2 separate regions of the Homo sapiens genome follow, and region 1 is linked to region 2. Evidence: promoter capture Hi-C in 16 types of primary human blood cells and fetal thymus (Javierre and others, 2016). All regions are on one chromosome and are shown on one strand. Each heading gives the region's core, a stretch centred on a gene start or on the middle of the fragment in contact. The rest is flanking DNA. Distances are from core to core; before and after follow the strand shown.

The links. Contacts are between HindIII fragments. The CHiCAGO score rates a contact against its expected background, and 5 or more counts as called.
Region 1: a contact is called between a fragment that was not itself captured here and the fragment with the promoter of PGK2 in region 2, in 2 of 17 cell types (erythroblasts and megakaryocytes). The highest score is 11.5, in erythroblasts.

The regions. Positions count from the first base shown.
Region 1 is chr6:49,730,109-49,732,808 of GRCh38, forward strand. It overlaps CRISP3 (cysteine rich secretory protein 3), which reads right to left. Exons shown (of 8, transcript NM_006061.4): 7 at 1,055-1,143. Among named protein-coding and RNA genes, the nearest start is that of CRISP3, 13 kb to the right of the region's middle. The HindIII fragment of the contact is 2,883 bases long and covers 1-2,700 here.
Region 2 is chr6:49,785,959-49,788,658 of GRCh38, forward strand. It overlaps PGK2 (phosphoglycerate kinase 2), which reads right to left and starts at 1,327. Exons shown (of 1, transcript NM_138733.5): 1 at 1-1,327. The coding sequence starts at 1,229. The HindIII fragment of the contact is 4,736 bases long and covers 1-2,700 here.

The DNA.
Region 1 (2,700 bases), core at 45-2,544, 56 kb before region 2:
GCATTTGAAAGGTAAAAATCTCAATGAATGGGTCAACTGCATTGTCAGTAATAATTTTAGTAACATATCCTAGTTAAACAAAAATATCATCTCTTTGTACTTTTATTTATAAAAGCACAAAATGAAATTGTATGAGATATAAATTTATTTACTCCTTTTTGCTAAAATATTTTTGAGGCTTCTGCAAACTAATACTACATACAGATTTGATTTTGACTTTAAAAATGTATACAAAATTATTAGCAAGCAGAAGTGCAAGTGATTATTATACTAAACTTGATGATTGTAACTACACTATGGCAAAAATGAGGAAGTTAGTATGATAAGTTCATTAGCATATGAGGAATTGCAGTATTTGGAGTCCCTGTCTGGATTGAGCCATATTCTATGGTCTCATACTCTTAGATGTATATTTGTTTTCCTTTTTTAAAATAATGCTGTATTTTGTATAATGATATAAACTTTGATGAGAATAAACTTCCTATTTAATTACAATGTTATTTCCACAGACACATTTTCATATATGCCAATATGTAACATGGATGGTAAGTGTTTCAACAGGTTACATATGATAACAGGCCAAATTTTACATTGCAAATGATACATAGATACTGAACAGTGTAAAATTTTCACTTAAAAATGCTCTGTAAGGCTGGGTGTGATGGCTCACACCTGTAATCCCAGCACTTCGGGTGGCTGAGGTGGGCAGATCGCTTGATGGCCAGAAGTTCGAGACCAGTGTGGCCAACATGGCAAAATCCTGTCTCTACAAAAAGTACAAAAATTAATCAGGTGTGGTGGCACGTGCCTGTAGTCCCAGCTACTCAGGAGGCTGAGGCACAAGAATCACTTGATCCCTGCAAGCGGAGGTTGCAGTGAGCCGAGATGGCACCACTGCACTCCAGCCTGGGCGACAGAGCCAGACAGACTTTTTTTTCCTTTTTGTCCTTTGCATGAAGGCATTGCTTAAGTTGGTTGTCTTCAGATTTCCCAATTCTTAGAAGAAATGTCAGATCATTTTATTTTATTATCAAGTTAATCACTTCAAACTTACTGCATAGTCCATCGTCACAGTTATCTGGGCAACTGGCACAAGGTGCTCCTTGTTCATAAGGGACATATAGTCTATTAGCCCAATTACCACTGAAATTTGAAATAAAAATGTCAAATATTTTTCATTTTTATGTTTCGTTTATGTTCCAAGGTTAGTATCAGTCACCAAATATACATGAGTATTTATTAAATGTTTTTAATTATGTCAAATAATTAAAAATATAATCTCAGAGTATATTCAGACAATAATGCAAATTAAGAGAATAATTCACACATTCATTCACTTTCCTGACCATAATCTTGCAACCTGAGAAACTGAAATAGGATAATTAAAGTCTAAAGTTTTTAAAGTATATTTCAATGTGGCAACACACTTCATCTCCCAACAGACTTCGTCAAATTGCTAAGATGATGTACCACAAGGTGCTGGCAAGGGGTAAAACATATCCCCTAGAGAGATAAGAAAAGTTCCTGAAGCACAGAAGGTTGCAATATGAAAAATAACATTTAATGTTAAATGTAACTTATAATTAAAAATAAAAAAAAACCATAATTTCTACAATATGAGGTAGGGTAAGTACAGTTTCAGCGTAAATTTTGGCTTCTAGGTGGAGTGGTGATTTTCACATGGTTTTTGCTGTATGTTTGTGAAAGGGTATTGGGCTTGGAAAGGTTTGGGAATGTCTACAGGTGGTGTGTATGAGATGTTTATGTTTGCCAAGAATGGGAATGTTAGGGAAAAAAAGATTTAATTAATACTAATCTCCTCTGTGTGTTCATCTTACAGTGACTAGCCTGTACATCATTGATGATTATTTTCCTATCGGTAATTATCATCTGAAAATACAAGAAAGTCAAAGTCTTAATTGCACTAAGTAGGCTAACGGTCCAAGGCTATGTAGCTGAATCTCAGCCTTTCTTCACAGAATATAGCTGTTGGTGTGTGAGCACTTAAGAAAATGTGAAATAGATATCAAAGTGTTCTGGAAGTTCTCTTTTCCCTGTTTTCTCTCATTACTAATTCCAACTCTCACTTCAGATGCTGACTCCAGATGCTCTCCTCTAATGACCAGGCATTTGGAGGCAGTCTCCCAGGGTCTTTCAATTTTCTGTATTAACAATGATAATTCTTTGCTGAAAAATGACCTTACAGGTCATATTTCTCAGACTGGAATCCTACATCACCTGGGATATCTACAGCCTCAAAATAAGCCATGCAGAAAGCTGAGTTTGGGGAAAACCCCTCCCACTAGTGGTGAACAACTTCAAATATTAAAAGGAAATTAAAGCTAATAGATATGTTGTGAATATATCTTCAATATATCCACAGATTTTTTTTCGTGAGTAGGTCAACTATATTGCTTGAGAAAAAAAAGTGGACTTTCTGCAGAAAACCCGAGATAATTAAGAAATTAGGATCTTAATGGAAGGTTCCATGAAATTTTTTTTGTGGTAAATTCTAAGAAGCAAAAATTTAAGACATTATCTTTTCTTGGCTATTTGAAATATATTGGGGATCTCTTAAAAGTCTTTGAGGTCCAAGATTTAATCATTTCTTAATGTATAATGTGAAATTTTCTGATAAGCAGGAGTAAGAGCATTTGAGCAGAAAGGACTGATATTGCTAAAATGGGTCATTCCTTATTT
Region 2 (2,700 bases), core at 77-2,576:
CCAGGAAGGATTTTACCTTCCAGAAGCTCTAGACTGGCACCGCCTCCAGTGCTGACATGGCTGACTTTATCTTCAGTGTTCCATTTGGCACAGCAAGTAGCAGTGTCTCCACCCCCTATAACAGTGATGCAGCCCTTGGAAGTGGCTTTCACAATTTCATCCATGAGGGCTTTGGTTCCCTTAGCAAAGGCATCCCATTCAAATACTCCTAACGGCCCATTCCAAACAATTAGCCTTGCTTGAGCCACAACTTGAGCATGATTCTTGTTGCTCTCAGGACCACAGTCCAAACCCATCCAGCCAGGAGATATGCCAGATGCTACAGTGGCTTTTCCAACCTGAGCGTTCTCGTCAAACTTGTCCCCAGTAACAAAATCAACAGGAAAAGTAATCCTTACACCATTCTTTTGTGCTTTGGCCATGATATCTTTAACGATCTTGGCTCCCTCTTCATCAAACAGGGAAGCACCAATCTCCATGTTGTTGAGTACCTTAAGGAAGGTATAAGCCATTCCACCACCAATAATCATCTCATTGACTTTGTCCAGCATATTTTTGATAAGTTGGATCTTGTCTGCCACTTTGGCTCCACCAAGTATAGCCAGAAAGGGTCTCACTGGGTTTTCCAAGGCTTTAGCAAAGTAATCTAGTTCCTTCTTCATCAAGAATCCGGATGCTTTATGGGGCAGATTCACTCCCACCATGGAACTATGAGCGCGGTGTGCAGTGCCAAAAGCATCATTGACATAGACGTCCCCTAGCTTGGAAAGTGATGCTCGGAAGGCTTCTATTTTATCTGGCTCAGCTTTAATCTTCTTTCCAGAGGGATCTTGGCCCTTCCCTTCTTCCTCCACATGAAAGCGCAGGTTCTCCAGCAGGATGACTGAACCAGGAGCTGGGTTGGCACAGGCTTTCTCCACTTCTGCGCCTACACAGTCCTTCAGGAACAGAACATCCTTGCCCAGCAAGGATTTGAGCTCAACAGCAACAGGTGCTAAGGAATATTTGTCAGGCATGGGAACACCATCAGGCCGACCTAGATGACTCATAAGAACTACTGCCTTGGCTCCATTGTCCAGGCAGTACTTGATGCTTGGGATGGAAGCCTTGATCCTCTGGTTGTTTGTAATCTGGTTCTTCTTCATGGGAACATTGAAGTCTACTCTCATGATGACTCGCTTCCCTCTAACATCCAGTTTGTCTAAAGTCAACTTCTTAGAAAGAGACATCTTGACAATATAAAGACATAGGCTGACACCTGGATCTTAATGCTGAAGAACCAACTTGCTGTTGAGGGGCTGGGTCGGTGGTGACTTCTAACGCCTTTGCCCTTGTCCCGCCCCTTTCTTCTCCTCACTGTCTCCAGCACAACGGCCACTGTTAGACTGGAAAGCAAATCTAGCTTTGTGATTGGCTCATGGTCCTGTCAATCTCGATCTGAACTGTGTTGCTAGGTGAAGATTCCAACTTCCTGGGCAGAGGGTCATGTAGTGGAATAGAGCTGTACCTGGCTTCAGGCGAGACTTGGGTAGGTGAAGAAACCCCAGAATAAGAATGGTTCTAAAAAAACAAGAATAGTCCTGAGGTGTGCGCCGCCTTCTGGCTCTTTTTGCCCCCACCCCACAGCTCGGTTAACAGTTGCTTTTATTATTAAAAACAAAACAAAAAGAACTCCACCCCCACCCCCGCAAACCTACATACACCTCATTCATGTCAAATCTTAACCATTTTGATATGTAAAAACCTCTGCAGTGCCAAATAAAAGGAATATTTGAAATAATGATTTTCATATGAAACCTTGCTTATTCAAGTCAGGATAGTATAGTTCTGTTTTTTCCTTGTCTTGATAAATATTTCTTTGAGGATGTGGCTTGTTGTTAGTCTTCATCTTTAGATCTATTCTGGGACGTGGTGGGAATGCTGTCATATTTTCATTACTTTGCTTCTTCCATTTTCAGACTACCATGAAAGAATGTTTGGTCACTTCTGCAGGAGAATCCCATAAGATCATAGCAAAGAGAGTATCAGTAACAAGTGCTGAAAGTAATGGTGACATTTCTTTCAGACTACAATGTTATGATGAGGCTCCTTATTTTTTGTCTCCTCTCTGTTTGCTTTCCTACCTGTACAACTTAGAAATTGAGCTGAAAAATAAATGCATGGTTTTCATGAAGATGAAAACATATATTAGAATTGAAAGTGAGTAAGATATTCTATTTTTGGAGAAAGCAAATGTATGTGGCTAGTTGGTTTAGTAATGAAAATTGGCTTTACAGTTTTTTTCATTCTACTCCATAAGTTGAGTGAACTAAATATGTAAAATGAAGGCTTTGACAGAAATATATTTGAGGCATCTCCTATTAAGATGGCTAAAATAAAAAATAAAAACAAGTGTTGAGAAAGAAGTGGACAAATTGGAATCCTCATTTATTGCTGATAGGAATGTCTAATGGTGCAGCCACTTTAAAAAACAGTTTATCGGTTCCTCAATGTTGAACATCGAGTCAACAGCATTTAAAAGCAAACTTAAATGGTGTTAAAATATATAGTAACAGAAACTCTCATTTGTTGCTCCCAGGAATGAAATATGCTACAGACATTTTGGGAAACAGCTTGGCAATTTCTTAGAAATATGCATAGACTTACCATACAAGTCATCAATCCTATTTCTAGATATTCATCCAAGGACATCAAAAACCT